Linked DNA regions of Homo sapiens: regions 1, 3, 4, 5, 6 and 7 are each linked to region 2. Evidence: promoter capture Hi-C in 16 types of primary human blood cells and fetal thymus (Javierre and others, 2016). All regions are on one chromosome and are shown on one strand. The core of a region is centred on a gene start or on the middle of the fragment in contact, and the rest is flanking DNA. Distances in the headings are between cores, read along the strand shown.

The links. Contacts are between HindIII fragments. The CHiCAGO score rates a contact against its expected background, and 5 or more counts as called.
Region 1: a contact is called between a fragment that was not itself captured here and the fragment with the promoter of SPAG16 in region 2, in 1 of 17 cell types (naive CD8 T cells). The highest score is 5.2, in naive CD8 T cells.
Region 3: a fragment that was not itself captured here is called in contact with the fragment with the promoter of SPAG16 in region 2 in 6 of 17 cell types (total CD8 T cells, total CD4 T cells, total B cells and 3 more); the score reaches 9.2 in total CD8 T cells.
Region 4: a contact is called between a fragment that was not itself captured here and the fragment with the promoter of SPAG16 in region 2, in 4 of 17 cell types (total CD4 T cells, naive CD4 T cells, non-activated CD4 T cells and 1 more). The highest score is 7.7, in total CD4 T cells.
Region 5: a contact is called between a fragment that was not itself captured here and the fragment with the promoter of SPAG16 in region 2, in 2 of 17 cell types (naive CD8 T cells and activated CD4 T cells). The highest score is 8.8, in naive CD8 T cells.
Region 6: a contact is called between a fragment that was not itself captured here and the fragment with the promoter of SPAG16 in region 2, in 7 of 17 cell types (naive B cells, non-activated CD4 T cells, naive CD8 T cells and 4 more). The highest score is 7.6, in naive B cells.
Region 7: a fragment that was not itself captured here is called in contact with the fragment with the promoter of SPAG16 in region 2 in 1 of 17 cell types (naive CD4 T cells); the score reaches 5.2 in naive CD4 T cells.

The regions. Positions count from the first base shown.
Region 1 is chr2:215,670,140-215,673,594 of GRCh38, reverse strand. The region is part of intron 5 of LINC00607 (long intergenic non-protein coding RNA 607); the gene reads left to right. The region is part of intron 4 of LOC102724861 (a long non-coding RNA gene); the gene reads right to left. Among named protein-coding and RNA genes, the nearest start is that of LINC01614, 46 kb to the left of the region's middle. The HindIII fragment of the contact is 1,062 bases long and covers 1,194-2,255 here.
Region 2 is chr2:213,282,880-213,286,395 of GRCh38, reverse strand. SPAG16 (sperm associated antigen 16) reads right to left here and starts at 1,932. Exons shown (of 16, transcript NM_024532.5): 1 at 1,777-1,932. The coding sequence starts at 1,912. SPAG16-DT (SPAG16 divergent transcript) reads left to right here and starts at 2,187. Exons shown (of 3, transcript NR_161186.1): 1 at 2,187-2,363. RefSeq lists enhancers at 1,530-1,609, 1,680-1,729, 1,770-1,899. The HindIII fragment of the contact is 3,357 bases long and covers 513-3,516 here.
Region 3 is chr2:215,346,672-215,350,641 of GRCh38, reverse strand. ATIC (5-aminoimidazole-4-carboxamide ribonucleotide formyltransferase/IMP cyclohydrolase) reads right to left here. Exons shown (of 16, transcript NM_004044.7): 14 at 3,701-3,883; 15 at 1,393-1,548; 16 at 878-1,106. The coding sequence ends at 987. Among named protein-coding and RNA genes, the nearest start is that of ATIC, 37 kb to the right of the region's middle. The HindIII fragment of the contact is 1,839 bases long and covers 1,578-3,416 here.
Region 4 is chr2:215,686,121-215,690,115 of GRCh38, reverse strand. All of the region lies in intron 5 of LINC00607 (long intergenic non-protein coding RNA 607), which reads left to right. All of the region lies in intron 7 of LOC102724861 (a long non-coding RNA gene), which reads right to left. Among named protein-coding and RNA genes, the nearest start is that of LINC01614, 30 kb to the left of the region's middle. The HindIII fragment of the contact is 1,424 bases long and covers 1,229-2,652 here.
Region 5 is chr2:215,445,917-215,449,701 of GRCh38, reverse strand. No RefSeq gene overlaps it. Among named protein-coding and RNA genes, the nearest start is that of FN1, 12 kb to the right of the region's middle. The HindIII fragment of the contact is 6,217 bases long and covers 1-3,785 here.
Region 6 is chr2:215,363,866-215,367,779 of GRCh38, reverse strand. It overlaps FN1 (fibronectin 1), which reads left to right. Exons shown (of 46, transcript NM_212482.4): 43 at 2,150-2,275; 44 at 2,795-2,901. It also overlaps a transcript of ATIC not described here. Among named protein-coding and RNA genes, the nearest start is that of ATIC, 54 kb to the right of the region's middle. The HindIII fragment of the contact is 1,282 bases long and covers 1,154-2,435 here.
Region 7 is chr2:215,424,234-215,427,687 of GRCh38, reverse strand. FN1 (fibronectin 1) reads left to right here. Exons shown (of 46, transcript NM_212482.4): 7 at 2,403-2,594; 8 at 3,363-3,454. Among named protein-coding and RNA genes, the nearest start is that of FN1-DT, 9.7 kb to the left of the region's middle. RefSeq lists an enhancer at 3,167-3,454. The HindIII fragment of the contact is 5,386 bases long and covers 1-3,454 here.

The DNA.
Region 1 (3,455 bases), core at 475-2,974, 2.4 Mb before region 2:
ATATCCTTTTCCATCCTTTTACTTTTAACTTATATTTGTATCATTATGCTAAAAATTGGTTTCTGATAGATAGCATATAGTTTGGTCTCTTTTTTATCCAATAAGATAATTTGTGTCTTTTAACTGGTGTTTAAACCATTTACATTTAATGTGTTTATTGATATGGTTGAATGTAAGTCTAATCTATGATTATTTGTGTTTTGCTTATCCTCTCTGTTTTCTTCTGTTTCCTCCTTTCTGACTTCTTTTGGATTACATGAATATTTTTCAGTACTTAATTCCAATTTATTAATTGGCCTTTTGACTATATCACTGTGTTACTTTTCAATGGTTCAGTGGTTGTTCAAAGAATTACAATATACAGACCTAACTTTCCAAAGTCTATTTAGAATTAATATTTTACCACTTCAAGGAAAATGTAGAAACCTTGCAAGCATATTGAGTTCTTTAATCTCCCTTCTTTATTTTATAGTTTTTATATATCTTACATCTACATACATTGAGAACCCTGTGAAATAATGTTATAATTTTTGTTTTCCATAATCATACATGTTTAAATACTTAAAAGCAGAAAATCAGTCTATTTCTCAAGATATTTACCCTTTATTATGCTTTTATTTCATTTATGAAGTTTCAAGTTTCCCTCTGTTATCACTTTTCTCCACCTTGAAAAGCTTCCTTTAGCATTTTTTTAAACACGCCTGCTGATAATGAAGTCTCCTAGTTTTCCTTCATCTGAGAAGGCAATTATTTTGCCTTTATTCCTGAATGATAATTTCAGAACTGACAGTCCCTTTTTTCCTGACACTTTAAAAATGTTGTGACACTCTCCTCTGGCCTCTAAAGTGTCTAATGAGAAATCAGCCATCTTTCAAATTGTTTTTCCCCATATGTAATGTGTCATGTTTTCCCTTTCTGGTGGCTTTCACACGTTTTTCTTTATCTTCAGTTCCCAAAAGTTTAAATTTGATGTATCTGGACATGGTTTTCTATGAGTTTATCTTGTTTGGGGTTTGCTGGGCTTCTTGAATCTGTGAATGTATGCCTTTCACCATATTTGGGAAGTTTCTATCATGGTTTATGCAATATTTTTCTACACTAATACTTTTCTCTTTTCTAATTATGACTCTAGTGACACAAACATTAGATATTTTCCCCAATGGTTCCTGAGGCTGTATTTATTTTATAAAGCTTTTTGCTCTCTGTTCTTGGATAATTTGGATGAAGTGAATAATTTTTGTTGACTTGCCTGCTAATCCACTGACTCCTCCATCATCCCCATTATGTTACTGAGCCTGTCCAGTGAGTTATTTCAGATATTATTGTTTTCAAATTCTACAATTTGTATTTGTTTTTTTATGCATACAAATAAATGTTTGGAAAAATACAAAAAAAAATTTCCATACATTTATTTAGTGTTCACTTTTACTTTATGGGAGATAGTTATAACAGTTGCTTAAAGTCTTTGTTTAAAACTTCTGTTTCTGAGATCATGGATGCTACTATATTTTGGAAATTTTTCTAAATCTTTTTTTTTTTTTCTTTTAGACACAAGGTGTCTCTCTGTCACCCAGGCTGGAGTGCAGTAGTGCAATCATAGCTCACCGCAGCCTGGAAATCCTGTGCTCAAGCTATCGTCCCGCCTTAGCCTCCCAAGTAGCTGGGACTATAGGTGCATGCCACCACTCCTGGCTATTTTTCTAATTTTTTGTAGAGATAAGGTCTTGCTTTGTTGCCTAGGCTGATCTGGAACTCCTAGCCTCAAGCAATCCTCCTGCGTCGGCTTCTCAAAATGCAAGATTATGGGTGTGAGGCACTGTACCTGACTGGTTCACTTCTTTGTTAAACAGCTAGTGTCCGAAAAAATTATTTCATTATGACATTCTTGGACATTCTGGAGTCAATGATGTCCAGTAAAAAGAGTAATAGTCAGGACTTCTATACTGTTCCCAAATTATATAGTCAGACATGTGTGTTCATTTGTTTTTCCATACTGGGAAAACCACAGCAGAATATCAGCTGTGCAGTCCACTACACCAGGAAACTCCATAATAGAACTCTTTACCTTCAATTTTTTCTTACTAGTCATTTCTTGGCTCTGAATATTTACCACCCACTTGTAGTCATCTCCCCTTCTCTCAGTTCCTCCCAACCTTCCGCTCTCATTCCTCAATAGTTTCATGAGTAGATTCCATATTTGGGCCAGCTCTACTCAGAACGATCATCAGCATCAGCATCAGCATCACCTGGAAGCTTGTTAGAAATGCAAATTCTCAGGTACTCCCCATAGCTACTGAATCAGAAAATCTGGGGGTGGGGCACTGGAATCATCTTGAACAAGATTTCTATTATTATTTTGCGCACTAAAGTTTGAGAAGCACTAGTCTAGAAATTCATTAAGCTCATTTGACTGGTTGGAGGAAAAATGGGGAGGAGGTAAAATTTAGCAAGTGAAGGACGGGCCAGAGTTGATGTCAACTAACAGAGAGGAGGGTGATCAGACATGACAACTCTCAAACAGCAAGGAATGGGTATGGCAGGCACTGAAAAGCTAATGCAGCTGGTAAAGTGTGGTTCTAACATTGGCTGTCAGATCTTTTAATGATGTCAGACGGTAGGCACATAGGGCAAAGGAACATATTTGTGCACAGATTATTTCAGGAAGCTACATAAGTATATGCATGAACAATTTCACATTGTTTTTGTAGAGTAAGAAAGTGAGGAGTATTTTTTTCTGCATCTTATTGATAAATAGGAACAAAATCTCTGAAGTGACCTGATCAAAGTGACACAGTAGTAGCAGAAGTTGAAACTCTAGTTAGAGTTGAAGCCTATCACACCGTTCTGTGACTTCAGTAACTGATAGGTGAGGCTAGACAACTCCTACTGTGAGCAATTTATCACCAACCCTAATAACCCAAAAGATTGGGTAATAGAGTACTGCTGTATTCATCTGGTAATACCTCCCTTGTCACCAAACTCAGAAACGATGACCGAGCAAATGGTAGTTGCAGAAACTGATTACTTGTTCAGACGATGTGAGTCCTGGGGGAGGTGAGTCTTCAAAACCTCCCTTTATGCATTCAGCACTTTTAAAAGTGCTTATTTTCTAGAAACAAAAGTTTTACTGTTTTCAGATACTGGTTCACAGTAAAATTGAAAATGCAGTTGTTAATCAATCCTCAATCCCTATGGAAATCTTACCACAAACTTTGGAGTAATTTGTCATTTATTCACATTTTCAACAGGCAGAACAGACTTTGACCCAAGGTGCTTAGGTATAGCCTTGTTTATATAATAGTTAAGCCTAAGATTTGAGTGTCAGCGTTGATAGGTAGTGTTAAGGTGGAGATAACAGAGTCTCTAAAGCCAAATTTTGCTGTTGAATGTAGCCTAATTTATCTTATTTTAATAGCTCCATTCATTTTGCTTTGGGAACCTTTCCATTTGGTTTT
Region 2 (3,516 bases), core at 683-3,182:
AGTTGAAATGACTAAACCTCTTCCCTCAGCATGGAATATAGCAAAATAAACTGGTTAAATGTTTAACTGTGTATCCCCTGACTACCATTTGGTTAAAATACAAAATAGCAGTCAGTCAACCAAAGAAAGAAGAAAAGCAAATGGGTTGGATAATTCACACAACGGTTAGTAAAATCCTAAAAAGTTACAGTTGCTTATATGTGTTAAAGTTCAAATAAGTGTGATTATTTGAAAAAGTCTTTGTAAGACAGGTTTGCAAACTGCTACATCTTGGCAGGTGTGACTCAGTGATCTCCCTGCACATTAAGTAAACCTGATTTTCATTGCTGAAAGTTGTGTTATGTTAGACTCCTACCATTTATTTCACAAAGATGTTTGCAAAAAGTTACCTCATTGTGTCAATCTCATGTTAACAATTAAACTATGTGTTCACGGAAATAATTTTAATGCAAACAAAATTACAAGATGCCTGGTTACCATTCAGTAGCAAGGGCACTGGATATAGATAAGCTTAGGAAGAATTATGAAAATCGTTGTTAAAGAGGAATATCACTGGAAAAGACTGCCTGTTACATCTACGAAAACAGTATAAAACCTCATTTATGACACTAAAGCACCCATATATTTCTTTCAAATTCATTTCAAGCGATTCAAATTTCTATTCCTGTAAAAGTCGTTTTTGCACCCAATAAAATACTACATATTTTCTTTAATCTTTCAGCTAAATTCTTCAAAGCTCTCTGTAGTGTGGATGTGTACTGAGCCTGAGTCAGGACAGGTTAATCGGCTTGTCAAAGCTCACGAAATGAATCATTGCTGGATTTCTGAAATCTTGAATTAAACCTGGAGAGGATTACAGTTGGACAAACAAATAAGATTTGGCAGATTTTGGAGTTTCCTTGGTATCTTTAAGAACTGAACAGATAATCATCTCTTTCTTACCTCCCTGAATAAAGGAGTTACATGTCTTTTTCTCATGAACCCTCCCCGTCTCCCTAGTAGGAATTAATCTATATAACTAGAGGAAAGAAGTTCTAAAGCCTTACACAAGAAATAGTGGACCTAATTATCCACACATTGTTATTCAATTTTTCTGGTACTTCCGATAAAAATCGCTAATCACCATCTGCTTTATTCCTAATATCTCTGAGCTGTGTAGCTCACCAGATCATTATTTATTTGCTCAAGAAAAAAAAGCAACTATACTATTAGTATTTATTATTAAGTAGTCAAACTTGGAACTACTCAGGAAGATAATGCTATCAAAACTAAGCATTTAAGCATTAACTGGACCATCGAACAGGATCGTGGGTTGGGTATTCTGAGCTTCAGCTCCTTAAAGTCCAATGGCAGAGGTCTTTCCCTAGTCTCCTAACGTTCCTCCGTTGAATTTATTGGGACGGCTTTCTGAAAGATTGAGGGCTTATTTAGGAAACCCATTATTTGAAAGGAGGGTTGAAGCAATTTGTTGTGCTGTCTTAACATAAAAAGCAACCCTCCATCCAAAATGTACTGAGTGGTTACTAAGTATGAGGCCTTGGAAGGTCTCCCAACTCTTCTAACAGGTACAGGACACCCTGGGCTACTAAGGGCGAGAAATTCAGTGAGTGGCTCTCAGGAAGACTGTGGTGGCAAAAACAGCACCTTGAAGTCCAACAGAGGCTCCTCCGGAGTGGCCCCAAGGCTCAAAAGGCGCCGCCAGTGGGAGGCCCTCGCCTTCGTCCCAACACCCATTACCCGCCAGCGCAGCGGGCCGCGCCTCCACGGGAAGGATACGTTCCAGGTAGTAGGCGCCCTCAGCCGCCACCGCGTCCGCCGTGTCCCTCGCGTCCCCGGCTGCCGTCAAACCCATGCCCAACGCCTCTTCCAGGACCCTCACGGCGGAGCTGGGCATCCCTCGCTGAGCAGCCATCTCTGGCGCTTCGGGCCCCCACCCCCAGCAGGCCCACAGCCGTCCCTAAGGGCAACAGCGAAGACGCTACCCAACGGCCCCCGGGAGCTCTCGCGAGATTCCGGCATCTCTCACCCCGCCCCACGGACCAGCCCCGGGCACGTAAGGGTTACCGGGAGTCCAGGGAGCTGTCGCCCTCCCGCGCCTCCCAGTTACCGTGGCAACGATGTTGCCTAGTTAACGCGAGAGCTCGGGCGCAGCTCTGGGAGCGGACAAGATACAGTAAACAATTGGCTTGCATTGCACCTTCCTACCCAAGCAGCTTGGTTTTCTTTCGCTTTGACCCTGTAATTTCTTTCCCACTTCGTTGTCGTCTCTGAATTACCTTTCTCTTGATTCTTGCCCATTAGCATCCTCCAATTTCAGATGTTTGTAGATCCCCAAGTGTTCCCAGGGAAAACTACTAGAAAAGGTGAGTTCTCAACACCTGGAATTTTTTAAAAAATGAAAAAATAAAGTTCTAGAAATCATAATAGAAAGACTGACCCAGGGGAGCTACCAGACGCTCCTCAGATGCTTAGCAATGAAGAACTATGGTGTTCAGCTTTGTCAATTCCTTTCTTGTGATCTTTAATGCATTTAGCTGGACATCTGTTTTGAGTTTGGTTCCATATACTAAGACTTGGAATAGTATTTGTAGCATTGATTCTCGCCAAGGTAAAAACAGTTGCATAAAAATTATGAGCTACAAATTTGGTCCTGACAAATGTATGCAGTTGACACTTGCCCCATCATGTATAGTCTTATTGCTGAGAGGATCTTCCTCAGGTTATATCGCGTATGTATCAGAAGCAAATTCAAGGCCCTTTTCTTTGCAAATATTTTTTTTTCCCTTAACTTTTATTTTAGGTTCAGGGGTACAAGTGCAGGTAAGCTCATGTCGCAGGGGTTTGGTATATAACTTATTTCGTCACCCAGGTACTAAGTGTAGTACCCAATAGTTATTTTTTCTGATCTTCTCCCTCCTCCCACTCTCCTCCTCAAGTAGGCCCCAGTGTCTGTTGTTCCTTCTTTGTGTCCATTTGTTCTCATTATTTAGCTCCCACTTACAACTAAGAACATGCAGTATTTGGTTTTCTGTTCCTGCATTAGTTTGCTAAGGATAATGGCCTCCAGCTGCATTCATGTCCCTGAGAGGACATGATCTCATTCTTCTGTGGCTGCATAGTATTCCATGGTATATGTGTACCACATTTTCTTTATCCAGTCCGTTGATGGGCATTTAGGTTGAATCCATGTCTTTATCATGAATATCAATGAACACGCATGTACATGTGTTTTTATGGTAGAACAATTTCTGTTTCTTTGGGTATATACCCAGTAATGGGATTGCTAGGGCAAATGGTATTATTTTTCATTCTACATTTCTTGGTGAAAACTGGAAGCCAGTGATCCTATAAAAGCTCCCATTTATTACCAAAAGGTAGCAGTAACTTCCTAAGGAGGTGTTTGAGAGTACGTGTGTCAGAGCCAGAGAGACAGCTTTCAGAGCCTGCTTCCATCACTTACTAGCTATGACACATTGGGCAAACTACTACTTAATGCCTCTAGGCCCCAGTTTCATC
Region 3 (3,970 bases), core at 1,248-3,747, 2.1 Mb before region 2:
TCCAGAGGGTGAATCTCGGGCTGCTGAAATTCTGGGAAACATTTCACTTAGCACTGAGAAAAATATACATCAGATTATCCATAGAGGGGGTCAACAAGACTTAAACCAATCCCCTCTAAGGTTCCAGTTCACAGGTGCCAATCTGCTGTTTGTTTGGAAAGTAGACAACCAAGCTTCTCAGAAGTGTGATTAAAAATAAATGGCATGAGGGCCGGGCACGGTGGCTCACGCCCGTAATCCCAGCACTTTGGGAGGCCAGGGCGGGTGGATCATGAGGTCAAGAGTTCGAGACCAGCCTGACCAACATGGTGAAACCCTGTCTCTACTAAATACAAAAATTAGCCAGGCATGGTGGCACATGCCTGTAGTCCCAGCTACTCAGGAGACTGAGGCAGGAGAATCGCTTGAACCCGGGAGGCGGAGGTTGCAGTGAGCCAAGACGGTGCCACGGACTCTAGCCTGAGTGACAGAGCTATTTTTTTGAGACTCCCTCTCAAAATAACAAATTAAAAAAATGAAAAACAAACAAACAAAAACGGCATGAGAAGACTCCCCTAGGAGGCAACATGGACCTTTAATATACAACTCCCATGCAGAAGAATTCTAGGTAATTTACATCAATACTCCACCTTTAAGATGGGTATAACTCCCAGTCCTTAAGTGTGGCCTGTACACAGTGACTTGTGCCATGTCCTCTGGCTGCTCAGCTCGTTTGGTTCCTGCTAATGTTTATGTTTCACACGGGCAGTGCTGTGGGATGGGCTGAGCTCCGGTAGGCAGGGGTGCTCTGGAATTCCTCATTTATGTGTTATGTGTCATGTGTCAGTTCAAAGAGCCTGCATCTTTAACATAAAACACAACTACCAAAAACTATGGATCCAGTGATTAAGAGATACTGTTTTATTTTTTTAAAAAGTTATCCTCAAAGTTTCAGGCGTGACTGTTCACCTACACATAAGCAAGCCAAAAAACAGTGTGTGGTAAAATCAGTGGTGGAAGAGCCGAAGGTTCGTATGAGCGAGGATGATTCCCAGTTCGTCGCAGGCCTCAATCACAACTTTGTCAGCAGCAGAACCGGAGGGAGCCGCAATGTACGCCACACCACTCTGGGGGAAGTATATTGATTTTCAAAACGCGATTTTATGTAAAAACCTGCAAAACTCAAAATCCCCCTCTAAAAAGCATATGCTAACAAAGATACACTCAGTCAAAAAGGCAAAATAACAACAGGATTTGGGTTCTCCATCCACCCAATGGAGAAGTCAAATGGTTCTCTGAATATTACTGATCTGTATCACTTTGCCACACCTTTTAAAAATCAAAAGCAGGATTTCTGAAACAGTTTCTACATAATGCTCAACTCTAAGCAAATGCACCCAATTCCATACTTACCCTTTTAGCTCTGTCTACGTTATCTCGGAAAGGGAAGAAGGCATCAGAGCTGATAGAAACTTCAGTCAGTTTCTCAACCCATTCCTTCTTCTCTGCCTCAGTGAGTAACTCAGGGACTTCCTCAAACAGTGCCTTCCACTTTATCAAATCTTCATCCTATGCGGGGAGAGAGAAAGGAAGAAGCTTGGTCTGACATCGTCTTTAGTTCTATGTGGTGCAAATCACCATGCCAGAAAGCACCTGGGCATTTTTCTTAGGACTTGTTTTTATTATTATTATTATTTTTTTTTTTTTAGACGGAGTTTTGCACTATCACCAGGCTGGAGTGCAGTGGTGCGATCTCGGCTCACCGCAACCTCCACCTCCCAGGTTCAAGCAATTCTCCTGCCTCAGCCTCCCAAGTACCTGGGACCACAAGTGCACACCACCACACCCAGCTAATTTTTGTATTTTTGGAGACAGAGTTTCACCATGTTGGCCAGGAGGGTCTCAATCTCTTGACCTCATGATCCACTCACCTCGGCCTCCCAAAGTGCTGGGATTATAGGCATGAGCCACCGCGCCCGGCCAGGATTTCTTAATTGTAAATAATGACCATTATTTACATGGAAGTTCACATATCTAGAATCTCTTTGATGCTTTTAGAAATATTTTCATTAAGGAAAAAAAGTGATTCTAAGTTTACCAAATAAAGATAATACCATTTTACTTTCCAAATCAGTTTATTCCAAGTACATATGTAATTTTTTTTATTTTTGGCTAAGCTACTTACATAAAAATACACTGTTTTAAAATCTCTAATTTAAATCTACTTCGTATCTACTACTTTATGTCTATTAGACTACCGTCTAATTTAAATCTACTGCTTTGGTACTACTGTAGCAAAGAAAGCAAATAAAAATTGTGTTCCAAGGGTTTTCAAAAAAACCCTCTATATCCAATCTAGGAAAGAGATGAGTAGTTCTTTAACTACATTTATACAAAAATTATTCTAAATGTAAAGGCAGTTGTAGACAAAACACAATTCATAATATTTGCTATGGTTTGAGTGTGTGTATCCACTCCAAAATTCATGTTGAAACTTAATCCCCAATGCAACAGTATTAAGAAGTATAAGGCCTTTAGAAAGTTATTGGGCAATGAGGGTGGGGCCCTCATGAATGGATTACAGACTTATAAAAGGGCTTCAGGGGAAGTATGCCCCTTCTGTGAAGTAAGGACACAGTGTTTGTCCTTTCCAGAGAGGGCTGTGCCATCTGGGAAGCAGAGGGTAGGCCTCCCCAGACTCTCAGCCCACCAGTACCTTGATCTGGGACTTCACAGCCTCCAGAACTATGAAAAATAAATGTCTATGGTTTATAAGTTACCCAGCCTGCAGTATTGTGTCATAGTGGCACAGACAGTTAATCATATTTTACAAGGTGCTTCTATCTTGGGTCATGTTTTAGCTTTGACATACTTTTATTCTTGTTCACTTCCAGGACTCTTTCAGGACTAGTAGCAGGGGTTGACTGGTAATATCAAACAGAAAAATCCAAGTATCAAAGTTGAAAAAAAAAAGATATCTTAAGGACTTCAGTTACATTCTGCAGCCTCACTCTTCAATGACACTTATGTTGATTCCTGCTCCTGAATAAAAAACTGAGGGTAGTCAATTGGCTCTTCAGAAGACCATCTAGTATTTGATTAGCAGCCTTCTGTTTTCCATCCAGCATTTTGTTAGGCACGCAATATGTCCAGAAACTGGGCTAGATCTTTTCTTCTGGCGGGCTACCTACCTAACGTTTGCGATTGTAATGTTCCCACATACCTTCTTCAAACAGAAGAACATGAAATGTAACAAAATGTATCAAGTTATTAATGGCACATGTAGAAAATGTGGTGGGAGAAGACCCCAGGGTTACCTGCCGTCAGGCAATTTGTATTTAATGTTGAATACAGACCCATCGGACAGCAAGCACCATGCATGACGTGGTGGCAGGCACCTCGACGTAGGTGAAAAGCAGTCCTTGTCATCAAAAGCTTATAATCAACAGGGGAAGTACAAATATACAAACCTACACCAAGGCTGCAATTTAAAAAGACAGAGGACTGTGGTTTCAGAAAGGGGTCAAAAACAATGAAGAAAGTTACATGAGACAGAAGAACATGAGAAATGTGTAAGAAGTTTCAATGATCAATTTTAGACAACATAGAATTTCAATGAAAGTATCTTTTTCTCTGTGTGGTGATGAAGTTAAAATCTGTTACACATAAAGGGTTGAACTGAATATTAACACAGCCGAGAACCCAATGCCAAGTCTTTCACCTCGCCAATGGTTCCAGTCACATATTGATCGATGGCATTGGAGATTTCTGCTCTCTTCACTCCTGTTTTAAACTTCATCGAAAGCACTTGTGGATGGTGTCTAAGCCACCAATAGTTTGCCTTATCTCCTGCAAGGCGAGTGCAGTGTATACGAGACTGCTGTCCTGCTCCAATGCCGATAACCTGAGGAACACAGACATTAAAGTGAACACCTCTTCCAAAGACACTTTCTTCTCAAAAGGATCTTTTGTGCACATTCTCCAAAACCTA
Region 4 (3,995 bases), core at 691-3,190, 2.4 Mb before region 2:
AGTCTTAACTAATACAATTCCCAATATAAGCATATTCCACTGAAACCTTGAAGTCTTTCTCACATTCCATCTGGATTTGCCCCATTCTCTAAGGAAAGGATCTTATTATACACGAATGTTGTCATACAGTGCATGCAATGTCCATCCAGCCTTTGAAGATATTCCTATTTCCATTAAAAATCTTTGTGTCTTATTAGTATTAGTATTAATCTTATTTTCCAGAAGTAGGATCCTAGAGAAAAGAAAGATATAATTTCAAAAAGACCCCAGAAGTTATCCAATCTCATTGCCAATCTGACGATGCTAAAACCTTGGCATCTCACATGAAAGCTGTGAAACTAGTATTGTTTCCAAAATTCTTCCATCTCTATTGTTATTGCCATTACAATCATTCACAAAGTAATTAGATGTCAGGATAGTTTGTTTTTTAAAGTGGCGTGGGTATCTCACATGGAACAAAAACTCTGAAAAGAAGAAAATGACATTATTATAATTAATGCAGTTTTTAAGACTGTGTTTTAAGACAAATATTTCAAAGCACAAAGCATAATGGAAGAATGTGTTAGAAGTTAATAGACTGTGAACACTGATCTTGAGTCCCTCTGGACTTTTAACCACTTACGTGATTTTTGAAAGCCATTAAAAATATAGTATTAAATAGAGGTTGTCATCTTCCTTATACTTTTAAAGAAAACAGAAGGCAGAGCTAATTGGAATTGAGTTTAATGGAAGAGTTGAATGAAACTCAATGAAAGATCAGCAGCTTGGGAGGCCGAGACAGGAGGATCCCTTGAGCTAAGGAGTTTGGGACCAGCCTGGACAACACAGAGAGGCCCTGTCTCTTCAAAAAATCAAAAAATTAGCCAGGTGCAGTGGTGCATGTCTGTAGTCCCAGCTACTCAGAGGCTGAGGCAGGAGGGTCCCTTGAGCTAAGGAGTTTGGGACCAGCCTGGACAACACAGAGAGGCCCTGTCTCTTCAAAAAATCAAAAAATTAGCCAGGTGCAGTGGTGCATGTCTGTAGTCCCAGCTACTCAGAGGCTGAGGCAGGAGGATCACTTGAGCCTGGGAGGCCAAAGCTGCCACCATGGTCATGCCACTACACTCCAGCCTAGCTGACAGAGGGAGATCCTTTCTCAAAAGCAAAAAAAAAAAAAAGAAAGAAAGAGCAGCTGAATTGATTCCCAACTTCATCTTACTTCATCTTGGTACTAACAGTCATAAAAGCTTAGAAGAAACATACATAGCCAAGCCACTCACTAGAAAGGCAATGAAAATTATTTTCCTTTCTGATAAAAGTTTCATGTAATGATTTCACTGTGAGAATAGTTCCATATTTCATTATTCTATAAACAAGCCAACTCCCTCTATTTGTTTTGTACAGGGATGGGTTATGCACACATACACACACACACACACACACTCACACACATACACATATTATATGTAATATAAATATATTTACATGAGTATTTGTAGCTTCTGTCTTTTCTAAATGATAGAGATTCTGTATTTCCTTACTTGTTGGGCCCATGAGACTGTCTTATGAGTTTGGGAATCATAGCTGGATAGACATCGAAAGAACAGACAACTACCATTGGTGGTGTGTGCCTGTAATCCCAGCTACTCCGGAGTCTGAGGCAGGAGAATTACTTGAACCTGGCAGGCAGAGGTTGCAGTGAGCGAAGATCACGCCACTGCACGCCAGCATGGATGACAGAGCAAGACTCTGTTTCAAAGAAAAAAAGAAAGAGAGAGAGAGAGAGAGAGAAGAAAACATCTTTTAAGGTTGGGAATCATAGCTGGATAGACATCAAAAGAACAGACAACTACTGTGAGAAGAAAACAAATACATTGGTAAGGTGGAAGGGATGAGAGAAATTGAAAATACAAGCACTGAGTTGGAGGCTGAGTTCTAGGGGAGTTTCAAAGGACAGGAACTGCTGGGGGACACGGCTACATATGGGTGGCAGCGCTAGTGGCAAATGGACAACAGAGGTTTCTAGTCTGCATTGTGAACATAATTTTCCTCCTGGAATTTTTAAGGAAAGTGAAAGAAAAATTTACACTGTTTTTAGTTATTGTTGGATGTTAGGCTGATGTTTTCTGAATGTAGCACTGAGTTTGGACTGGACTATTTAATACATTTTAATGTATACATTCCTACTTGCCTCAAGGATGTATTGGTGATCTTTTGGGATCAGAGTTACATTTTGCTGGTTAGAATTAAATCTGAGCTCTTCTTCCTCCTCATCAATTTTCAAAAACCAAACTGCCGAGTTAGCTTTATCGACACCAACCTGAGCACTAGGGAGGTTGATTTAAACTATCTTGTAGTAATTAGAAGTGAGTTTTTGTCAAAAGGAATAAAAATAGATGAGTAAGATAATAATGGAGGTCCTGTCTAACAAAGACTTGGAGGTAAATAAATACTAAAAGCAATTTTCATGAATAGAATGAATGGACATTTCTGGTTCCTTTTTATCTTTTCCTCCTTTTCTCCCTCCAACAAAATCCATTTCAGAAGTGAGCACTGAAAGGAGTGGTTGATCTTTAAGTTAGCCCACATGACTTATGTAACAAAACACAGGCCACCAACCATCTAATGGGATTTTCCTTAATCTTTTAAAACAAATGCTTTTTAGATAAAGCTTCTAGATTTCAGTTACTGTGTGTTAGCTAAAAAAAACTGGAAATTGCTGTAGCATAGAGGAAGAGAGGACCTGGTCTCTAGTTAAGTGATAGATAATTCTTCTTGTACAATTAAGTGTCTTTCTTTCTTTTTTCTTCCTTCCTTTCTTCTTTCTCTTTTTCTTCCTTCCCTCCTGTTTTTTCTTCCTTTCTCTCTCCCTTCTTTTCCTTTATGTTTTCTTGTTTCACCTTTTCCCCTCAAATTGTAACTAAATTATCCTATCAGAAATTAGATTTTTTAAAAAAGAAATAGTTGCTGTTTGAATCTCTGGTCTATGTTTGGACAGTGCCATTGATAGAGAAAATCTGCTTTAGACATATGCTTTAAATTTTTGAATATTCTAGAGTCCTTGTCAAGGGCAGTTTTGACTCTGTCCCTTCCCTCATTCTCCCAGAGGACATTTGGCTATGTCTTGAGGCCATACTGGGTTGTCATGACTGAAATGGGGAGATGCTCCTGGCACCTGCTGAGTAGAGGCTGCTAAACATCTGCAATGCACAGAAAAGCACCCCCATAACAAAAAGTTATTCAGCCCAAAATGCCAGTGGTGCTGAGGTTACAAAACTGTTGGCCGGGTGCGGTGGCTCACGCCTGTAATCCCAGCACTTTGGGAGGCCGAGGCGGGCAGATCACCTAAGGTTGGAAGTTCGAGACCAGCCTGACCAACATGGTTTGAAACCCTGTCTCTACTAAAAATGCAAAATTTTCTGGGCGTGGTGGTGCATGCCTGTAATCCCAGCCACTCGGGAGGCTGAGGCAGGAGAATCGCTTGAAACTGGGAGGCGGAGGTTGCAGTGAGCTGAGATGGTGCCACTGCAACAAGAGTGAAACTCCATCTCAAAAAAAAAAAAAAAAACGAAGAAGAAACTGTTTCAGAGATTTCTTTAAGTATTCCTGGATCTTCACCTTAGGCACAGAAGTTACAAAGTGAATTAGGAAGTTTAAATAAACATGATAGCTAACGTTGAGTTCTTGCTATACTGCAGGCATTGTTCTAATACTTGTAGTTCTCATAATATTTCCATGCAGTAGAAACAAGTAGCTCCATTTTACAGATGAGAAAACTAAGAAACAAAAGTTAAGTAACTGGCCAAACAACATGTAGGTATTAAGAATTGTAGCCTTAATTCTTGATTCTTGAAGAAGCACAAAGGGGTGGGTTTGGAGCGTAGAGTTTGTTTGAGTTGCCACCTCTACTTCCGAAATTCATTGACTCATGTGAACAAAATTACCTTTTTATCCATTGTATTTGTGGAAATATTCAAAGTTATATACTTCGGTATTTATGTTGAACACACAATTCT
Region 5 (3,785 bases), core at 770-3,269, 2.2 Mb before region 2:
CAAAAACAAAGGGTAGGCTGGATTTGGCCCCTGGGTTTGCTGACTCCTAGGTTAAGTTACATATCTTAAAGAACAGAGAGAAATTTGGAATTGCTGCCTCAAAAGGCAAATGCATTCTGTTTTTAGTGTTCATTTAATTTTATTAAATGTGATACATTATGCTAGTCTCCTTGGGCTGCCATAACAGATACCACAAATTAGGGGGCTTAAATAATGGAAATTCATTTTCTCACAGTTCTGGAGGCTGGTAGTCAAGATCAAGGTCTGGCAGGGTTCGTTTCTGGTGCGGGCTCTTTTCCTGTTACATTCCTTTTCCTCTGTGCTTGCCTGGGGTCAGGAAGGCGTACAGGGTGGGGGAGATGTCTCTGGTGTCTCTTCTAATAAGGATGCTAATCTTATAGGATTGGGGTCTTGGTCTCTAAATATTCATACATGTATAGATCACTATTCTTGTTTCCTTCTCACAATATCTTCTCTTTCTACAGTCATGATTTTAGGTTTTAGTTTGTTTTTATTTTTCACTTTCTTCTATTTTTTGCATTGCCTCTTATTCTTTTGTTTTGTATTCTATAAATTCACTTTAACCTTTTGTGTCAGAGGCTTTTCTCAAAGGTTTGGTGACTGATCCTTTGACATCCATTCATGTTTAGAATCGGGACACTAAAGATCTGATTGGAAACTGCACAGAGGAGTGGAGCTTAGTGACTGATTGGCAACACTGTAGGTGATGGGGTTAGAATCTGGCTATTTCACTACAGGACTCCCCAGTGTCAGATCTACAGATTATTGTCTCCAAAGAGACTAAGTCCAGAGAGAACATTTTCAATCTGCCAAATGGAGAGTAAGCATGTATACCTTCACTTAACTCTCCATTTTTTTTAGCCCTGTGCTTCACCACTATCACCCTCCCTGCCACTGAGTTTGGGGTTTTTCTGGTTCAATCTATCTACACAGCAAATTTCCTGGGTCCTACTTGGGCAAGAGGAGTGGATCAGTCCATGGCTGGGTAGAATAGGGGCAGGAGTAACAAGGGCGTCCAGTTATTCTTTATGCAGATACTTTCAAACACCTCTCAGTCCCACTTTCCTGCCCTCCCTTCAGAGGTACCTGATGCCTCCCATGATTGAGGCTTTCCGGGTTTCTTGAATATCAATCAGCTTCTTTTTTTTTTTTTGGCTTGCAGGCATTAATTCTGTGACCTTAGGTATCACTTCTCCACCTGTGTTCCTTTTTCCAAAATGTTGTTGTCTCTCATCTACTGTCTCCTTTCTTATTCTCTTTATTCTTGTAGGTTTAAATTGTTTTCATCTCTGAACTATAGGTGTGATTTCAGGAGGGTGTAGAGGAAATGCTTGTGTTCAGTCTACTGTGTCTTAGGTTCGTGCATTTTAAATATTGCCAAAATGTCCTTTTAAAAGATTACCTCAATTTTCACTCCTAAAAATCTGTGCACATGTATACATTTTTCCAACTGACACACTTGCCAATAGTGTACAAAAATCAACCTTTTTATCTCTGTCAACTGACTAGTACATTTTACATTCCTTAAAAGTAGAGCCTACATCTTATCTATCAACGTCTCCTACACACAATGATTGACACAAAAACATCTGTAAGAAAGAGCAAGAATCAACAAATTCAGCCCTTCAGTTAACCAGGCATTTGCCTTTGGGCATATTATGTCATGCCTCTGGAGTTCTATCTATGAACCTAAATTTATCACTCATTCTCTTGTTATCATTAATACTCCAGGTGCTTGGATTCATTTGCTAGGGTAATACAAAGTACCATAGAATGGAGGCCTTAAACCACAGAAATGCATTGTCTTACACTTCTCAAAACCAGAAGTCCAAAATCAAGATGTCAGCAGTGTGGGTTCCTTCTGAAGGTTGTGAGGAAGAATCTATTCCATGCCTCTCCTCCAGCTTCTGGTGGTTTGCGGTAAATCTTCGTTTCTCCTTGGCTTGTAGATGCCTCACCCTGATCTTTATCTTCATCTTTCCTGGCATTCTCCCTGCCCGTGTGTCTGTTTCCCTCTCTTATAGGACAGCAGTCATATTGGATTGGGATCCACCCTGATGTACGTGTTTTAACTTGATGACCTCTTTAAAGATCCTATTTCCAAATCAGGTTACATTCTGAAAGACTGGGGGTCCAGACTGAATTTGGGAGGGACATCATTCAAACCATAACAGTTCTCTTAGCAGGTGCTCAAGAATATTTAACGGAAGACTTGAATTTATTATTTAAAAACAAATGGTAAAATATTATGGGAGTTTAGCTTAGAAGCTAAAATTCTGCGTGGAGTTTATGGAAAGCTAGGAAAAGAGAGGAAACTCGAAAGTAGAATTGCAAATACCAGGGCAAAGCTAGTAAACAAATCACATGCAGTCAGCAGGAACAGAGCAGCTGAGCAACTAGGCATGTAAGGAAGGTAGTGCATCATACTGGTTACTATGAAAGCTGGGCTGCTGTAACAAAGCTGCTCAGTAACACAGGGCCTTCTACAATAAAGGAGGGTGTCTACTTCTCATGCAACAGTCTCAAAGTGAATGGCTCATGTCAATAGTCAAGGTCTGCTCTTCATGATAATTCAGGTCCCAAATTTTCCCAAGGCATTTTGATCATCTACATGGTTAGAAGCTGGGTGTCCTCTGTGTTGTGTATTTCAGCTAGTGGGAATGAACAAGGGAATCTGGAGGAGTGACGTTATTAAACTAAGGCACAGAACCAGAGTTGGGATAGATCGCTTCTTCTCACAGTCCACTGATGAGGAACTATTTCTATTGCCATGCCTAACTACAAGGGAGACTGTAAAATTTAGCCTAACTGTGTACAATGGGACTAACTGTGAAAGAAGAGAATGGATCTGTGTGGGCAACTAGCAGTCTCCACCACACAACTTAAAAAACTTCAAATGGTAGAAAGAAAAAAAAAAGTCTTTCTAAAAGGAATTAATTTAGTGCCTACAATCAAAGAGTTTACAGTACTGTTGGGGAAAAAAGAATCAATATAAAATTTTTGAAAGAGCTATAATAATATGCTGGCCTGTGTGGAAAAAAAAAAAAGTATAGGTAAAGTCAAAATGAGGAGAAGAAAAATACCAGATTGGGCCATAAGAATTAGAAAAGGCCCATGATCATTAATCTTGCCACTAATAATCATCATCTTTCTGTTGGTTTTCTCACTTTTACACAGAGATAACAATCACCATCAGTGACAACTTCTCACAGAACATAATTTATATCACCTTATTTACATACTAATTATATTAAATGATAATAGATCTCATAATTATCTACCAATTAACTTAATAACTATTTAATTCAACACATAAAAAAGCCATGGTTTTAGCATTTATTTCCTGTGATGTCTTTTCCCCCATGAGTTTGAGATTAAACTTTTCTTCAATTTTACTCTTTGATATCTTGTTCCAAAAAAATAAAATTTCTTTCCAAAGCTCAGACTGATAGAAAAGGATTTAATGCTATATAAGCTAAAAGGAAATATTAAAACAACAGTCAAAATATATGTAATAAGTGGAGAGGGGTGGTGTAAAAAAAAGAAAAAAGAAAAGATAAAATGTACGTAATAGAAAATTGTCAAAAGTATGTCAATACTTGTCAAATTGTATACAGGTATGTGGGGCTTATGAGATGGCAATTATATCTCAATAAACCTGTTTTAAAAATCTGAAGGGAACATTTCAGAGAAAATTGTGTGGACATGTTATTTAATTTTTTAAATCTTGAGTCATTGCCCTCTTAATTACCTATAGGAGAACA
Region 6 (3,914 bases), core at 545-3,044, 2.1 Mb before region 2:
GGAAGACACAGGTTCTTCCAAACATGAAGCAAACAAGAGAATACTGTTTGACTCGAAGTAATATTTTGCATCATAGAAAAATGATGGGAAATTTTACTTGTTGGACATTGCTTCATTTCAAGGGTTGTATGCCAATACAACTATTAATTACACATAAGATTATGGTGCTAATTTGATTTTTGAAATTTTCTGTGAAAACAAATGGATAAAGACTTTTGGAACCAGGTCTATTTAAGAGTATTAGAGACACAGAAAAACCTCAAATCTCTTTTAATCTTCAGTGTTGAATGAGATCAGAGGTGAACATTTAGACTCAAAAACAGCCTCCTTCAACATAAACCAAACATGCACATATCATAGTACCCATGCACACACTTTTGCGTCACACACATAGCCCAGGTAGCTTGAACGTTGCTAGAAATATGAAAGAAAAAACAGATAATCTGCTTTTAGATCATTAAAAATCAACTTGAATTGATAAATGTTTGATTTTCAAATTCTAATACGTTTTAATTTTCAAATTTTTTAAGTTAAAATGTGCCTAGGAAATATCTATTATGCTTTGAGATTAGGATTAGAATTTATAAACCTTTCATTTATTCTTTGTGTTTAGGAGATGTGATGATTATTGACAATTGGTTCATTTTTATAGGTGTTGACCGTTATGCCTATAAATAAGCCTCCTATAGACATACAGAAATCATATCCTGTGGAATTAGAATATAAGACTTGGTAAAAGAGATTTTCAAAGTATTTTACTTAACTTGTATACTTGAAATCATTTAATCCAGACTGAAGTTGTAAAAGCCAGCCAGTGTTTTCAATATAGACTTCCATGTTTGACCATCTGAAAATGAAAAACACTAAAAACATCACATGCTGTTTAGGAGCTGGAAATTTTAATATTTGACTTCAAGTAGATGGTTTTTAACTCCTGAAATCGAACTACGTTTAAGTTTGTATGTTTATTACCTGTTTGAGCACTTAGGTGCAATTGTGGGAGCGGGGATGTCAAGTTCATTTATGTGACTCTTTGGCTCAACTTACATAATCTTTGTTTTGATATCACAGTTGTCTAATTATTTTACTTTGTAGCTTAAGGCAGGCTGAATTGTTGATAAAATGGAAAAAGTAGTATATTGTTATATAAGCTTCTGAGGTGTGTTTTGTTGTATAAGCCCTGGAGGTTAAAAAGTCATCCCTTATGTATAGTAGTTAAAGGCATAAAACTGTGACTTTTAGATATTCCACAGAACCAGACTTATTTGATGTGGATAATAACCAATGATTTAGCATTTTGTTTGCTTTTGTTTTATTTTATCCGGGTTCATTTTTTACTCTTCCCATGTACATGAAACAGGTGGTGGCGTGTAGAGATCAGCTGATCCTTGTTTTATGGTTAATTGAACTACTTTGTATCCAGGGTTTCTGCAAATCCAAAAGTGATTTTTCATCTAGGATCTATTCCTAACAGTCTACTCCAATCCCACTTTAGTTTTCCACAATTTTAAATCTTAATAGTGAGAATTCAAATGAAAGTCATTTCATTTGACTATTCTGATGACATGATTGTGGCAGAATAAATTGGGTCTTAAAATGCCCTAGAAAATGGTAAATGATAAAAAATAATATTTTAAAATTCAACCAAAGAAATGGCCCATTGGCCAGGTGTGGTGGCTCACACCTGTAATCCCAGCACTTTTGGAGGCTGAGGCGGGTGGATCACCTGAGCTCACGAGTTTGAGACCAGCCTACCCAACATGGTAAAACCCCATCTCTACAAAAAATACAAAAAAAAAAAAAAAAAAAAAAATAGCACTGTGGGGAGTGCCTGTAATCCCAGCTACTCAGGAGGCTGAGGCAGGATAACTGCATGAACCCAGGAGATGGAGGTTACAGTGAGCCGAGATTGCACCACTTCACTCCAGTCTGGGCGACAGAGAAAGACTTTGTCTCAAAAAAAAAAAAAAAAATAAAAAGTAAATAAATAAATAAAATAAATGGCCCATTATAGGGGTTTTTATCTTTAACTTGCTATTTTTCCAGATCATGGTTCTGAAGACCCTGTGACACGTCCCAGTTCACCTACTGTCTTGTGAGTCAGAATATACAAATAACTTTTTGGTCCTGACTTTCCCCACCCCTACAGGATGGTGCCATGACAATGGTGTGAACTACAAGATTGGAGAGAAGTGGGACCGTCAGGGAGAAAATGGCCAGATGATGAGCTGCACATGTCTTGGGAACGGAAAAGGAGAATTCAAGTGTGACCCTCGTATGTCATCACAGATCATTTTTAGTGCCTTATTAAGCATTCTCACTTTCATTATCAGGCTGTAACTCTCATTCACAGAAATGATTGGAGACTTTAGGTCTCCTTGAGGAGTGAACAGTGGGTTTCTTAATCTTTTGATTTGGGAAAGTGGAGACAAGCTTCAAAAATGAGTCATGATTTAATGTTATTACAGGACACTTTAGCACTTGTCCAACCTGAGTATTTTGACCATTATCTGCAGTAAAATGCTACAAAGAAGCTTTATTGGTCTGTAGATTCAACTTTTAAAATATGATTTCCATCTTCCCGTTGGACCCTTTCCAGTGTATTAGGTCTAATTTTTGGAAGTGCCACCCTAAGATCTGTATAGCAGTACTGCTCTTAGGGATGATTCACATAAATATGTGGTGTTTGCGCTGTGATGATACAAATTTAGGACAGAAATAGAACCCACCCCTAGATCAAGTCTGCAGTATTGTTCTCAGCTTATGCGTGCATCTGTCTTGTGTCTATATGCAGATGAGGCAACGTGTTATGATGATGGGAAGACATACCACGTAGGAGAACAGTGGCAGAAGGAATATCTCGGTGCCATTTGCTCCTGCACATGCTTTGGAGGCCAGCGGGTAAGACTGGATGTGCCAGGCTCCCTACAAGTTAGATAAGATAAAGGGTGGGCTCCTGCAAGGATGTGTCGTACACACAGGAGGGGCAGAGACCCTTCGGAAGTATTAAAATACCACATTTCCTGTTGGCATACAACTGCTGACATAGAGCTCTAGAGCAGCTCTATGTCTACCTTACATGCCATTCATTCTTTCTATTACTCTTAGTAGAAAGAATGAATGAATGGCATGTAGAGTACCAAAAACACAAGTCTTGAGTCATTCTTAATAGCAACACCTGTCATTTATATGATGTTAGAATCATTTTCCTAAGCTCCCTAGCATGTCAGAGATACTATTTACACTGAAAAATAGTGAAGCAGAGATACTATTCAAATTAATTAGTGGTAAATAGAATGTGTTTCATTTCAGCCGGTTCTCCCCATCCTGGGCAGCCTGAGACCCTCCCCTCCCCTACTATTCTCAGGCTGCTTCTATTTTTCAGCAAAGTGTTAAGTGCAGTGTAGCTCTAGGCCTCCAACTCCATTCTGATGGACAGGTGTCCCATGGCAACGTTGTTAAATATTTTGAATAATATCTCAGATGTAAGAAAATGCCACTTCTTTTAACCTCTCTCTTGATTCAGAACAGATGCTTGTTATAGGTCTAGCACTGTGCTAAGTAGTATAGGAAAAACAGAGGAAATGAGAAATGGCTTGGCTCTTAATGATATAGTTGAAGATGTTAAATTAGCATACATTTCAAAGTCAAGCTAATTAAGTTCTAAGTGGGTCTGACAAATACAGTTCTGGGTAGGCTGGAATTAGCAAGAAAGAGAAGCATGAACTGGCTGAGGTTTACGATGACTAAGGTTTAGTTGGGAGGGGAGAAAGCAGAGAGACACACCCCCTGGGATAGAAAGGAGCTGGCCCAGGTGGGCTTTGGTGAGCCAACCCTCTGCCTGCTGTCTTCTGGTAAGAAAATAGATGGGAAGAAGTGGCTTATGGAGGGCCTTGGCAACCCATTATTTAAGC
Region 7 (3,454 bases), core at 69-2,568, 2.1 Mb before region 2:
AGTGGAAACCATCCTTTATATGTGGTTTCTATGCTCTGGCAAACTTTGTTACATTCTATAAAGTAACACACAATTATTTCCTTCATGTATTGGCATTCGAAATTTTAGAAATTCAGAGAGGACTTAGAGATGGCCATGAAAGACATGATATCTAAGCATTCTTTTTAAAAAACAAGTTTTAATCATTTTTGGCATGAGAAAAAGATTTTTACGTCATAAATGTTTCATAAAAATCTGAAGAGAGAAATATGGCCAACAAGGACGTGCACTCCTCTCATTATTTTTAATATGTTTTGATTAACTTTTTACTATATGATGTGCCAACATCATTACGTAGTGTCTCAGCCATCCTTCAATTAAAAATATTAATTGTTCTAATTTTTCTTCTTTTGATGAGTTTTTGTCTTGCTTTGAGCACTTATGAAGGTGAACAAGATTAGATTTGATAATATCTTTGAGTTATTTTATTATCATTAATAAAATTGCTACTGGCCAAAAAAAATTATAAACATCGGCCACGCGCGGTGGCTCACGCCTGTAATCCCAGCACTTTGGGAGGCCGAGGCAGGCGGATCACGAGGTCAGGAGATCAAGACCATCCTGGCTAACACGGTGAAACCCCATCTCTACTAAAAATACAAAAAATTAACCAGGCGTTGTGGCGGGCGCCTGTAGTCCCAGCTACTCGGGAGGCTGAGGCAGGAGAATGGCATGAACCCGGGAGGTGGAGTTTGCAGTGACCCGAGATCGCACCACTGCACTCCAGCCTGGGTGATACAGCGAGACCCCATCTCAAAAAAATAAAATAAAATAAAAAATAAAAAAAATTATAAATGTCAGTCTACCAAAATAGATTAAAAGTGTAGGTGGGAATTAAATGGGGATAAACACTCAATAAATGTTAGCTATATATGAATATTGCCAATACTGAAAAGATTCCATTGTTCAAAAAAGTTTGAGAAGCAATGGGTTAAACAAAATGGAACCTGCTCTGCAGAATCTGTGTGTTCCTTTACATCATACTCTCCATGGTAGAGTGTAGGGGATGGGCGCCATGTCTCCCTAGTACGTTTGACCTTGGGATTCTTTGTCTGTGAACATCTTTGGGTTCTAGTGTTCAGCAGCACTTAGGGAGGCACTGAATTCAGTGTACCTTTGGTCTAGCCTCAGCCCTGATTCTGTTCTGCGGTGGGCCCTGGCCTTCAAGAGAACAGATATCTAAAAGTTGAAAGAAAAGATCGGCCGGGCGCGGTGGCTCACGCCTGTAATCCCAGCACTTTGGGAGGCCAAGGCGGGTGGATCACAAGGTCAGGAGATCGAGACCATCCTGGCTAACACGGTGAAACCCCGTCTCTACTAAAAATACAAAAAATTAGCCGGGCGTGGTGGCGGGTGCCTGTAGTCCCAGCTACTCGGGAGGCTGAGGCAGGAGAATGGCGTGAACCCGGGAGGCAGAGCTTGCAGTGAGCCGAGATTGCGCCACTGCACTCCAGCCTGGGTGACAGAGTGAGACTCCGTCTCAAAAAAAAAAAAAAAAAAAAAAAGAAAAAAGAAAAGATCAACACATCCTGTTGTGTTATTCTGAAAGGAAAGCTGTCTTAAGAGGATCAATTGGTTTTAGAAAAAACACAATAGAATCACAAATAATCCAGAGGAGAAATAAAATGTGGAAGGTGGAGGTGACCTCCAGAAAATCCAGGACAGCTGCTGAAGGCACCCTCTGATGAGCTCGGTTACTCAGAAGAGTGAGGATGTGTTGAAGGTATCTGCTGTATGGAGTGGCAGGATGATGTCTGTGATTGAGAAATATAATCCCGGCCAGGCGAGGTGGCTCATGCCTGTAATCCCAGCACTTTGGGAGGCCGAAGCGGGTGGATCCCCTGAGGTCAGGAGTTTGAGACAGGAGTTTGAGGTCAGGAGTTTGCCAACATGGCAAAACCCCGTCTCTACTAAAAAATACAAAAAAAATCAGCTGGGCATGGTGGTGCGTGCCTGTAATTGCAGCTACTTGGGAGGTTGAGGCAGGAGAATAGCTTGAACCCAGGAGGCAGAGGTTGCAGTGAGCCGAGACCGCGCCACTGCACTCCAGCCTGGGCAACAGAGTGAGACCCCATCTCAAAAACAACCCAAAAAACCAAAAAACAAACAAACAAAAAGAAATATAATCCCAGTAGCCCCAGCTGAGCTGGAGGATGGAGACCACTTGGTAGACACTTGTGGATTATTTCCTAGGCTAAATGCAAAAGCTACTGCTGAATAAGGGACATTTTTTTCCAGTCCCAGGCCAGTAGCGACATAGATTTCAGAGTGATCTCTGTGAGATCCTGAAGATCCTGACTGCAGAAAGTAGTGAATTGTCTTCTCTCACCCAGTTTTGTGACATTCCCTTTTCATGCCATTAGGATCTGGCCCCTTCACCGATGTTCGTGCAGCTGTTTACCAACCGCAGCCTCACCCCCAGCCTCCTCCCTATGGCCACTGTGTCACAGACAGTGGTGTGGTCTACTCTGTGGGGATGCAGTGGCTGAAGACACAAGGAAATAAGCAAATGCTTTGCACGTGCCTGGGCAACGGAGTCAGCTGCCAAGAGACAGGTATGCATTATCTTTTTGAAGAATAGGACTGATGACTTTATTATTTAGTTTTTGAAGGACAATACATTTTCAATGTGAAACAATAAAACAAACAAGAAGCCTGTAATCTTACCACCCTGTGATAACAATTAGGGTTGGCATTTGAAATAGTTTCTTCCAATCTTTTTAATTTATGTATTTTCTTTCTGGTCATGGATATCATGGGTAAAAATTTTATTGTATTTATCTGTCTAAAGTGTTGTTACAAGAGAGCTACTTTCTGAATAATCATCAATGTTTTATATTCTAAATCTCAAATTTCAGCAGCTTTGTGATGTAAACATCTTCCAATAACCTAATATATGTATTCTGCACTACAAACATGGTAGTCACTATGGCAATAACAATTGCTACACAATTCTCCCCCAGAATAGTCTCATATATTAATTTTATGGCATAGATATAGTCATAAATATTATCCCAACATCCTTAAGCAGCATCCTTAATTGACCTGTATAAATATAGCTTTACAAATAGAGAAACTGAGGCATGGCAGCAGAAGTGGTCATGAAGGACATCAGCAGAAGAACTCAGGTGTCGTTCTATCCACAGTAGACATGGATTCCTGAGTAATGCATTTTGACTGAAATTAACGAGATGATCATCTATACTCATAGCTTCTTCCTTTGAGGGCACAAGCTCAGTATCTCATTGAAGCCATAAATAAGCAGCTGCTGGTGGGAGATAAAGCATCTCTGTTTACTGACACTCTTTTGATTATGATTGTAGCTGTAACCCAGACTTACGGTGGCAACTCAAATGGAGAGCCATGTGTCTTACCATTCACCTACAATGGCAGGACGTTCTACTCCTGCACCACA